Linked DNA regions of Homo sapiens: all the other regions are linked to region 1. The links are contacts of gene promoters, found by promoter capture Hi-C in human tissues and cell types (Jung and others, 2019). All regions are on one chromosome and are shown on one strand. Each heading gives the region's core, a stretch centred on a gene start or on the middle of the fragment in contact. The rest is flanking DNA. Distances are from core to core; before and after follow the strand shown.

Evidence for each region. Contacts are between HindIII fragments. The study calls those that stand out against the background at their distance.
Region 2: a contact is called between a fragment that was not itself captured here and the fragment with the promoter of PDZRN3 in region 1, in 2 of the 25 tissues and cell types used here (bladder and mesenchymal stem cells).
Region 3: a contact is called between a fragment that was not itself captured here and the fragment with the promoter of PDZRN3 in region 1, in 2 of the 25 tissues and cell types used here (IMR-90 fibroblasts and aorta).
Region 4: a contact is called between a fragment that was not itself captured here and the fragment with the promoter of PDZRN3 in region 1, in 1 of the 25 tissues and cell types used here (aorta).

Annotation. Positions count from the first base shown.
Region 1 is chr3:73,623,447-73,626,394 of GRCh38, reverse strand. It overlaps PDZRN3 (PDZ domain containing ring finger 3), which reads left to right and starts at 1,454. Exons shown (of 10, transcript NM_015009.3): 1 at 1,454-2,292. The coding sequence starts at 1,570. PDZRN3-AS1 (PDZRN3 antisense RNA 1) reads right to left here and starts at 2,827. Exons shown (of 2, transcript NR_046681.1): 1 at 2,430-2,827; 2 at 1-983. The HindIII fragment of the contact is 5,146 bases long and covers 1-2,948 here.
Region 2 is chr3:73,856,674-73,859,621 of GRCh38, reverse strand. The region is part of intron 2 of LINC02005 (long intergenic non-protein coding RNA 2005); the gene reads right to left. Among named protein-coding and RNA genes, the nearest start is that of LINC02005, 49 kb to the right of the region's middle. The HindIII fragment of the contact is 3,452 bases long and covers 1-2,948 here.
Region 3 is chr3:73,798,095-73,801,042 of GRCh38, reverse strand. No RefSeq gene overlaps it. Among named protein-coding and RNA genes, the nearest start is that of LINC02005, 9.7 kb to the left of the region's middle. The HindIII fragment of the contact is 9,206 bases long and covers 1-2,948 here.
Region 4 is chr3:73,767,867-73,770,814 of GRCh38, reverse strand. No RefSeq gene overlaps it. Among named protein-coding and RNA genes, the nearest start is that of LINC02005, 40 kb to the left of the region's middle. The HindIII fragment of the contact is 6,566 bases long and covers 1-2,948 here.

The DNA.
Region 1 (2,948 bases), core at 205-2,704:
CTCCTGCTTTACTGTTCAGAACTCTCCCGCTTCACTGTTCAGAAACTGGAAGCAGATTCCAAATGAGAATTCCATAGCTTGATTCCACTCTCACCAAAAGCTGACTGCGTGTTTCTTAGGAATGTCTATAGCCTTGGGAGGTAAAAATAAAATAAAATAAAATCAATGGATGATGCTATGAACTTTACACCCAGTTTGGAATTCCAAAAATATTCCTCCATTGCTCAGGACTGTTGCTGAATCCTACCCAGCCAGGTTTGCTGTACTGCAGGGAATGAATGTCCAGATCTATGGATCGCCAGGGTTTTCCAATCAAGTGGGAATCCAAGGACCAGCATGGACTAGCAGCATTGGCATCACTTGGAAGTGCTTTCAGTATGGAGATTCTCAGAACCCGCCCCAGACCCACTGTATCAGAACCGCAACCACATTAAAATGTGAGAAACACTGACCTACAGGACCCTACAGGGCACTTTTGTTTTGTTTTGTTTTCTGTTTTGTTTTTATCCTTCTTCTAGCCTGAGTTTCCTCAATGGAAAGATGACAGAGTGTACACACAAAACAAACCAAAACTGAAGGAGGGCAGTTGTTGACATGATCATGGGGGTGATGAGTCTTCTCCCAGTTCTAACTTCTGCAGTCAGCATCGCTTCTTTTGTAATCACGGGAAAATAATTTTCAAATGGAGCTAACCCTCTCACAACATTGTACTAATGATCTTTAAAGCGACGGATTTAGAAGCGCTCAGCACCACGCTTGCCACACTGCAGGGCAGACACTTCAGAGGTGTTAGGTGAAGTGGATGGAGCCAGCACGCTGGCCTCTCCCACTCCGACAGCTGGCGAGCAGCTCTTGTCCACCAAAACTTCCCCGGGTAGATTCACCCACCGGTCCTGGAAACCTGCTAAATCCTGAAGGTTCACAGAACCTCTGGTCAGAACTGAAGTTGCAGCCGGAGCTTCCCGCAGGCTCTGTAACTTTCCCTGGAATGAAATAAATAAATAAAGACCGTAAGTGCTGAGATAGCGGGCCCCAAGATATTTTTAGTCCTCTGCAATCAGCCACTAGAGGAAGGGGGAGGGAGAAGGGAGTAAAAAAGTTTTGATCCGTTCGGGAAGGGGCTCGAAGAGAACCCTTGGGAGAAAGCAGTAGCCTCAGCTCCAAACTCAGCGAGCTTTTCTCGGCTGGCGTTTTGTCTCCTATAGCGTAGACTGTAAGAGAACAGAAAGGAGTTTCCCGAGAAGATTCAGGCTGGCGTCCTGGGCTGGCCCGTCCCTTCTGGCGAGCCTCAGTGTCCTCCCACGCGCTTCTGCCTTCCAGCCTCCTCCCTTTTTCGGGGGGCTGGCGGGAGGCATCCAAGGCACGATGTATGTGCGCTCGCGCTCGCGCAAATACGGCCGGAGGAGTCCTGTTCCTCGGGCATTTTCCGAGGAAGTCTGGATCAATTAGGCTCAGTCCGGGGAGAGCCAGCGAGCGCGCGGGCGGCGTAGCCGGCCTGTCTGGGCCGCCTCGTGGGGAGGGAGGGGGCGCCCGGCCGCCCGGCGGCGACCCCGGGGCCTGGCCGCCACCATGGGCTTCGAGCTGGACCGCTTCGACGGCGACGTGGACCCGGACCTGAAGTGCGCGCTGTGCCACAAGGTCCTGGAGGACCCGCTGACCACGCCGTGCGGCCACGTCTTCTGCGCCGGCTGCGTGCTGCCCTGGGTGGTGCAGGAGGGCAGCTGCCCGGCGCGCTGCCGCGGTCGCCTGTCGGCCAAAGAGCTCAACCACGTCCTGCCGCTCAAGCGCCTTATCCTCAAGCTGGACATCAAGTGCGCGTACGCGACGCGCGGCTGCGGCCGGGTGGTCAAGCTGCAGCAGCTGCCGGAGCACCTCGAGCGCTGCGACTTCGCGCCCGCGCGCTGTCGCCACGCGGGTTGCGGCCAGGTGCTGCTGCGGCGCGACGTGGAGGCGCACATGCGCGACGCCTGCGACGCGCGGCCAGTGGGCCGCTGCCAGGAGGGCTGCGGGCTACCCTTGACGCACGGCGAGCAGCGCGCGGGCGGCCACTGCTGCGCGCGAGCGCTGCGGGCGCACAACGGCGCGCTCCAGGCCCGCCTGGGCGCGCTGCACAAGGCGCTCAAGAAGGAGGCGCTGCGCGCTGGGAAGCGCGAGAAGTCGCTGGTGGCCCAGCTGGCCGCGGCGCAGCTTGAGCTGCAGATGACCGCGCTGCGCTACCAGAAGAAATTCACCGAATACAGCGCGCGCCTCGACTCGCTCAGCCGCTGCGTGGCCGCGCCGCCCGGCGGCAAGGTAGGCGCCTGCTGCCCGCCCCGACCTCCAGCCAGGATCCCTGGGGACCCAGGGCCCCGCCCCATCCCTTTGGGTACAGGGATGCCCCGAGCTTCCCGGGAACATCCTTGCTTCCTCCCTCTTCTTCCACTGCTTACCAGCTGTATCACTACTTGCAGGTCGCTGAACCTGCCTGAGGTGGAACACTGTGGTCCTTTATAGTCTAGACGTAACCGGTAAAGTATAGCTGTACAGCTTCAGGGATTCTGGAAGGACGAAAAAGAATTCACAAGCAAGTGTAGGATAAGAATGAAGAATGCAGCTCCAGAGTCAAAACTGCGTTCAAAGGCTTTGCTGCTCAGACCAGCTAGGGGATCTCGGGCAAGTTGCTTACCCTCTAGAGGTCAGAAACCTATAGACTGACACTTAGGAGAGGAGAGATGGACACATTGGGTGAATTGTATCCGTGCATCCTCTAGGATTCCAGAAAAAAAAATAAAGGGAACCCACAGCCAGTGTAGATTAAGTTAAGAAGGATATCAGAAGAGAGGCCTCTGGGGTAAAAGCTGGATGCAAGCGTGGGCTTTGCAGCCAACTAGCTGGCTGACCTTGAGCAAGCTGCTTAACCTCTCTAAAGTTGGAAACTATGGTCCCTAGAGACGTGGTATACAGAGTAA
Region 2 (2,948 bases), core at 320-2,819, 230 kb before region 1:
ATGCTTGTGAGCAGGGGCAGCTGAGTTCTACCTTCTGTTAACTTTCATAGTTCCACAGCTGTGTTACTGATGCTTAGGAATTAGAGTATAAGCCCCAAGCTTAGTGGAGAAGACAGACGAACATAAGAGAAGTAATCCCAGCCCTATGGGAGGCCGAGGTGGGTGAATGGCTTGAGCTCAGGATTTCGAGACCAGCCTGGGCAACATAGCAAGACCCTGTCTCTACAAAAAACACAAAAATTAGCCAGGCATGGTGGTGCAAGCCTGTAGTACCAGCTACTCTGGAGGCTGAGGTGGGAGGATCACTTGAACCCAGAAGGTTGAGGTTGCAGAGAGCTGAGATTGCACCATGGCACTCCAGCCTGGGTGCCAGAGTAAGACCCTGTCTCAAAATAAATAAAATAAAAGCAACAAAAAAAAAAAAATGCGCAAATGAAGAGCTTGGGCTTTAAGTCAGACATATCATAATAAATATTTGTCTCTCCTCTTTGCTGCCTATGAGATCTTTGGCATCTCAATGTTCCCAAACATCAATGTATTCAACTTTAAAATGGGAAAAAAAAATTGTACAGTAAGGATTACATGATAAAGCTTAAACACAAGCTCTAGAAATGGTAGCTATTATTTTATTTTTATAAATCATACCTGAAAGCTCTCAGATGAAATTTGAATGCTATAACTTCAGATTTACATTTTAAATATTGGTTCTGTCTCTTACTAGCCTTGTGTCCTTGAGTAATTAATCTCTTTAAGTCTTAGTTTTCTCATCGACAAATCTGAAAACACTACTATCCCCTTGCTATGGTCTGAAAGTTTGTGTCCCCACCCCCATCAAATTCACATGTTGATACCTAATCATTATTCAGAAGGAGGGACATCTGTTTTTTGTTTTTTAGGGAAAAGAAAAGAAACCTAATCATTGATGTGATGGTATTAGGAGGTGGGCCTGTGGGATGCAATTAGATCAGGAAAGGGATTAGCACCCTTTAAAGGAGGCCCCAAAGAGCTGCCTGACACTTTCTCCTATATGAGGACACAGTAAGAGAGTGCCCTCTATAAGGCAGGAAGTGGGCCCCCACCAGACACCAAATCTGCTGATGCCTTGATCTAGGACTTCCCAGACACCAGAATGGTTGGAAATAGGTTTCTCTTGTTTATAAGCCATCTAGTTTATAGTAATTTGTCAGAGCAGTCCAAATGGACTAAGACGTCTCTCAATAATAAATAAAATAATGTATTTAAAACACTTAGCACATTGATCCATTCAATCAATTTATATTGAAAACACAGACTCTAGAGTCAGACTACTTATATATTAAATTCCTGTTCACGTACCTTGTTCAAGGTACTTGAACTTTCTGTGCTTAATTCATAGATTATCCTGTGTACTGAATTTCCCTCAGAAACAGAGATTTTTGAGATCACTGCAGTGAAACCCACCATTGTAGTAAGGCAAGGTTCATCTCCTTCTCCCTTCCACAACGTCTCTGATGTACATCAGTTTGAACTCTAGGCCAACTTTCAAAAAACAAAGAAACTCCTACAGTTCTAAGTCTTTGGCTTTTCTCTGTGAATCACAGCTACCTTATTAGGTTTCTCCCCCTTTGTCCTCCTTCTTTTTCCTTTTTGTTCTATGCTTCTGCATGCATGTTTTAATCAGAGATTTTTAAGAGACTTATCCACAAAGTAGTCAAGAAAGAGAATTTTAGGACCAGTGATCTGATACCTCTTCCGTGACTGAAAATTATAAAATCGGAAGTATGTTAGGAAGAAAATATTTCCATGGTCTGTTAAGATATTCAGAAGCTTTTCACTAGAACAAGTTTGCATTATTTAACTTCTCCAGGAGCAGGCAAGAAAAATATCAAGAGTCTGCCTTTGGGGAGATGCCATTTCATGAGCGATGAAGCAGTAATGAATGGTAAAGATGGAATATCAAGGAATCATTTTTAAGGGAGAAATGCAGCTCTAAAGCTATTCGGTTCAAGAGACTGACATAGGATGTCCTTACTTTCAACTCTATTTTTTCCAACCACCTATCTGTCCATGCATATTCATTTAGTGACTACAGCAGGCAGTGTAGTATTGAAAAGAAATTACAGGCCATTCACGGTGGTTCATGCCTGTAATCCTAGCATTTTGGGAGGCCGAGGCGGGTGGATCACCTGAGGTCAGGAGTTCAAGACCAGCCTGGCCAACATGACAAAACCCTGTCTCTACTAAAAATACAAAAATTAGCCAGGCATGGTGGCCGGCGCCTATAATCCCAGCTACTCAGGAGGCTGAAGCAGGAGAATCGCTTGAACCCAGGGGGGTGGAGGTTGTAGTGAGCCAAGATCATGCCACTTCACTCCAGCCTGGGTGAAAATGAGAAACTCCATCAAGAAAGAAAGAAAGGAAGGAAGGAAGGAAGGAAGGAAGGAAGGAAGGAAGGAAGGAAGGAAGGAAGGAGAAAGGAGGGAGGGAGGAAGAGAGAGAGAGAGAAAGAAAGAAAGAAGGAAAGAAAGAAAGAAAGAAAGAAAGAAAGAAAGAAAGAAAGAAAAGAGAGAAAGAAAGAAAGAAAGAAAGAAAGAAAGAAAGAAAGAAAGAAAGAAAGAAAGAAAGAAAAGAAAGAAAGAAAGATAGATTACAGCAAGTGCATTGAAGTTGTGTCCAGAGCAAGCACAATGAGACAGCCCAGGAACCTGAAGCTAGAGTCAATATTGAGTATGCTGGGACAATGACAGTAAAAAGGAACTGAAGGGAAATTATACACAGAGCATACTTCAGACCACCTCAGTCTGATGGAGGACAAGGATAATGTCCTATTACAAATTTGCAAAATAAACTTAGAGGCATGATTCAGTAAAGATGTGAGATTTCACCTATTCAAGCACATGATCTGAATTTGCATCTGATCCTGAAGTCCTTGCTTCTAACCACTACACTAGTGTCCCTTTAAAATATTT
Region 3 (2,948 bases), core at 302-2,801, 170 kb before region 1:
ACATTTAGTTTTTATGAAAATAATATAAGGTAGGAAGTATTATTTCCATTTAACCAATGATGAAGCAAGCTCAGAGAGGCAACATGATTTATCCAAAGTCACACCGTGATCAAAAGAGATGGAAAGAATTGTATCCAAGGCAGTTTGGTTGTTGCTCCCGCTCTCTTGCCCATACTTATGTACTCAGAGGTAAAGTAGGCCAAGGATACATGAAATGCTAAAAGAAAAATGAATGTTAGAAGGCAAAAGAAGGGCAAGAGAGTATAATTCAGAGGGCAATCCTTATTTGTGCTTATAGAATGTCCCATATGACCTCTCTGTAAGGCTATAATAGGCCCAGGAATCTGTACTTTGAATGTTTCTCCAGTTGGTCTAATTCACACCTCCTACAACTACATGAATGGTGATTCATCACAGCTCAAGATTTGCTGAAGTGTTTGCATCCATCGACAGCATGCACAGGACTACTGCTGGACTTCGGTTTTAGTAAAGAAGGTATGGAGGGTCATCAGCAAAAAAGTAGAGAAAATTGTTTCAGGGCTGCTGGAGACAGAAGGCTAACAAAATCTTTGTAGCTTCTGGCTGATAGAGGCTGATAAGCCATAGACTGGTGGTCTCACTATGGAGGGGGTAAAGGGAAGAAGAATGTAACACAGAGAAGCAAGATTTAATAATTAAAAGCATATAAAGCATGAAGACAGCTGTTTATACAAAGCAAATATTAAAAATGGTTATGGGGTCTGGGTGCAGTGGCTCATGCCTGTAATCTCAGCACTTTGGGAGGCTGAGGCGGGTGGATCACCTGAGGTCAGGAGTTCGAGACCAGCCTGGCAAACATGGCGAAACCCCGTCTCTACTAAAAATACAAAAAGTAGCTGGGCATGGTGGCACATGACTGTAATCCTAGCTACTCAAGAGGCTGAGGCAGGAGAACTTCTTGAACCTGGGAGGCAGAGGTTGCAGTAAGCCGGGATCGCACCACTGCACTCCAGCCTGGGCAACAGAGCGAGACTCCAGCTCAAAAAAAAAAAAAAAAAAAAAAGTTATAGGGGCTAATGAGTTCCAGATTATTTCTAATTCGGCCTGTCCTAAGAAACTGTGGTAGACTGTGGACCGCATAAACCATGACTTCTGGCGTTCCAACTTTGGGTTACTCTGAAATTAGTCATATGATTTGATTTTATCATGAGACACATCACACGAGCAGAGACTCAATAAGCACTTGTATATTAAGGATTATCCTGTCGGAATTCTCCCTCTTGCAAGGCTAACTTGAGACTGCCATGCTACTAGGAAGTTCAAGTTCACCACATGGAGATGAAATAAAATATTGTGATAAACATCCCCTGCTGATCACAGCCTCCAGTGATCCGTCAACTACACATATGATCCCAAGTCACATGTGTGACCCCAAGCAAGATCAGCAGAACAATCATTCAGCCAACCCACAGAACCCTGAAAAAATATAAATCATTATAGTTTAAACCACAGGTTCTGGGGTAGCTTGTTATGCTGCTATTGATAATTAAAACAAACTGGAATATTTTCATCTAGATGACAATCTACTCAATTGTTGAATCCTTTGTGTTTCCCTCTTTGCCCTGGTTAGTAAGATTCTCAGAGCTAAGTTGTATGTTCATTACTGTGTCTTTCTTCAACCAGGAATTCTCATCAGAATTGGTCCATTTCTCTTTCAGATTTTTGTCTTTTATATTAGTTGGTTTGGGTCTTACTATACCTCTGGTTTTCCTTTAAACTGACTAAAATTATTTGGAAAGTAGTCAGCATACCGGTAAAATAATAAATAAAGGTTAGTGGTAGATGAGTAAAAGAATAATGATTGCTATAGGGAAAATAATAGTAATTATTAATATGTGAATACAACAAAATGTTAATATATTTTTAAGCCAGGCCCTATTCTAAAATATTTTCATGCCTCCTATTATTTAATTCACCCAGCGATTATGAACAAGTACTGCTATCTCCCATTTTACAGGTAAAGAAAGTGAGGTACAAACTTGTCGTGGCTTTCCCCAAAGTCTCATAGCTAGTAAGTGGCAGTGCCAGGGCACAATTCAGGCCTGCCCAATGTCAGAGCCCACACTAATGACCATTATGGAACATTTCTTCACATGCCTTTTCTATTGTGTTTAGCCTATTTTGCTGTTGTATCAAAATTTACAAGACAAGGAATTATCTCCTGAGAACTTTTAAGTGTAAAACTTGTCATCAGGTTATTTAGTTCTATAAAGAAAAGATTAGAAAGTTGGAAATGGAGCAGCTGTTCCTAAATCGGGCAAACATTGCATTCAAAGAAAATTAATTTTCTCCACTTTCAAAAAAGAAATTCAAGCCCTAGTTTCTGATGCCACAATCATTGCAGTTAACAAAGCCATTTTAATAACCTCATTTTGTCCTTTGATAGATGGCTGTTCTTTCAAATGTGTATTCTCAGAGAAACTAGTGCTTTTGCAAGACTATCTGAAATGCTCAGAGAAAAGTAAACTACTCTGTAAATAAAGGGCGTTATTGTCTGCAGGTGATCCTCAAACTGTACAACCAACATATTGAATTTAGCTTTTATGCTTTTATTTTTAAATGAGTACAAATTGGAAAGCAAGAGTACTGATTCTAATGATTGAGTGTGTTGAAAATTAATGAAAACCATAAGTTTGAAAGAAGTTATTAGGCATGCCAAATGTGAACTACTTCTAACCCCAGAAGGATTAATTTTACTCTTAGGTGGTCAATTAAGAAGGAAAGGAACAAAAGTTTAAAATGTGTGTTATGGAGCTAGGTCATTGAATTTTGTATCAAAAAGGTAAAATATAAATCAGAAATGTATAATTTTTAGTTTTTACATTATGAGCAGGAAGTCTGCAATTGCAGCATTCTTTTATGTCTAACTCAAAAATTGGACAGCCTTAATGAGAGATTCAAAATTACAT
Region 4 (2,948 bases), core at 267-2,766, 140 kb before region 1:
GAAATTGCCTCACCCGTCACAGTCACCATCAGAAAAATTAAATGCCTGCTCCATTCCTTGAGGTACCAGGCCCCTACTCAAAGTCTAGCAAGATGCCGTCTGATTGGCAAAACCTGTGTCACATGCCTGTGACATAGCTGCAAGGGATGCTAGGAGAAAATACTCAGTATTTTTAGCTTTTATAGTTGGAGGAGGTCTTTGCCCCCACCTCAGAATGATAAGAAAAGGGATTTCTCAGTATAGAAAGGTAATCAAATGCTGAGTGGCCAAGATGAATTGCAAAAGTTAAACAAACCATGTTGTAATCTCTAGTTTACTTGTCTGCTTTCCTCAGTAGACAGCAATTATTCATGAGACAAGGAACCATATCTAATTTGGTACCATTTCGTCTTTGCACTCAGCACAATGACTGACACAGATCAGGCCCTGAGTAAATATTGTTAAACAAATGAATCACTAATATAATAGTTATAAAATATTCAGCATAGTACCTGGCATACAAAAAAGGTTCATTAATGATATACAGTATATATAAGATGAAGCAATGCATTCTCTGTAGTCAGGGAACATTTCTCCTTCTATTTTGTGTCCCTAGCACCATATCAGACAGTATGTATTCAACAATGTTTGTTGAATGAATAGTTGAATCAAAGAATGAGTGAGTATGCATCATTGTAATTAATCCCTAGTAGGGTATATCCAAAGAACTGCTTAGATCGAAGACTGATGAATGCTTGAAGGTTGAGCAATGACCCATTGAGGCAGCTGGATCCTGCAGGAAGGGGAACCCTGGGAGTGGAGAAGTTTGATGATGGGATGGGCTTCCTACCAACTGTCACTACAAGTCCACTGAAGCCCATATCTGCATATATAATCTATATATGAACCAGACATAATACAAATGCTTCTTTTCTCTTGTTCATCTACTTCTGAAGGTTCATATTGCTTCTCTTACTCCCAGTACCCTACCCATGTAGAAACAGAGGAATATTCAATGTGATTCTTACTATAAAATCACTAGACGAAGTGTAGCTCCTTCTGAAGAAAGCCCAACTAATAGTATGTCAAAATCCCATGTCCCATTTTGCTTTTTGAAAACTCATGGCTGAGCAAGATGGGAGCATGACTTCTAATTTCTGACAGATACTATTAATGTATCCCAGTTTGTTGTAACTGTAGCTCTCTTAAAAATTTCTTTGGAAGCCATCATTCTCAGCAAACTAACACAGGAACAGAAAACCAAACACCACATGTTCTCACTTATAAGTGAGAGCTGAACAATGAAAACACATGGACACACTGAGGGGAACAACACATACCGGGACCTGTAGGCAGCGGGGTGAGGGAAGGGAGAGCATCAGGACAAATAGCTAATGCATGTGGGGCTTAATACCTAGGTGACGGGTTGATAGGTGCAGCAAACCACCATGGCACATGTTTACCTACGTAACAAACCGCCACGTTCTGCACATGTATCCCAGAACTTAAAGTAAAATTTAAAAATTAAAAAGACTTCTTTAAATGAGGAGTATCTGACTCAGTGCAATCACAAAATCCCAAAGTTTGGCCCAACTGCGTGTCTTCAGGTGCACCCTTCAACACAAATCTAAAAATAGATTTGATCCAGACAGGAAGGAACTCTACAGATTGTATCAGGCTCCATGATTATATGTAGTCCCATCAGAATACAGCATAATGCAATCATTTGTCAGGAGATAGAACGTGAATCAGAGGAAAGCCAACTAAAAATGTTATCAGATTGTTTCAGCAGGCAAGCTAGGCTAAATGAGGAGAAGGAGTTGAAAAACTCCAGATGGTTGGATTTCAAAAATTTCAAAAAAGCAAATTTTGAAGCATGATAATGTTTTCTTTTTCAAATTTAAAATAATTTTGGAACTATTTTTAATGCGTAAGTTTAAGTAATGGTAAATTAAAAGGCTCGGTTAACTATGATTGCCCAGTTTCTGGAATTTTTAACATTCTGAAATACCAGTTAACTGTGACTGATCACCAGAAGATGTCAGCATTACCTCCACCATTTTAATCATCTGCCAACTCAGAGGCTATCAACATTTGAAAGTTAACAATCACAAATTGCATAGCAGCTGCCCAATTTGTTGGCTGTTGTAACCTTTCTTTTATGATGCAGTTCTTCTCTTTTAGAAGAGATCCATTTAGCCAATATACCCTTTAAGTCTTTGCACAATACTAAAGCTGTATTAGCAGTGTGCCAGCTTCCCTCTTTTTATTTCTTTCTATTGGCTTTTATACGAGCAAATCTTTGCATGTCTAATTGTATGGAGACAATTAGCTGTTCTATGAAATGTTGTCTCCTCCTATCTTGCATGTGCAACCACTTACATACAAATGTACTCACAGGTACCAAAGCACTGCCCATGGGAACAGAAAGGTCAGAGGATTTATTTTAAACAGATTGTCATTCACATCCCAATTCTATTACTGAACTTCACTGAGCCACGTTCGGTTGTTATTCCATTTCATTTTGGTTTGGCTTGTTTTGGTATACAAAGATGAAATTACTAGAGTTAGTAATATCTGCCCAGCAGGATTATTGCCGTAAGTATATACACTAGTTGGATTCAGTAAATATTTCCTGAGCCCCTACTATGTGCCAAGCATTGTGTCAAGCACAGAGAATCAGTGCCTGAAGAAGGACACAGTCTAGAGCTGTGCTTTCCAATAGAGTATTTACTAGCCACATGCAGCCATTTGAATTTAAATTAATTAAAATTTAAATTAAAAATTCAGTTCCTCAGGTGCACTGTCACATTTCAAGTGCTTGATAGCCATAGGTGAGTAGTGGCTATGACTGTACAGATTTGGAACATTTGGATATGTAGATACAGAACATTTCCATTATTGCAGAAAGTCCTATTGGATAGCACTGATCTAAAAGCGAAATGGACTCAGGAGTTTACCACCCATTT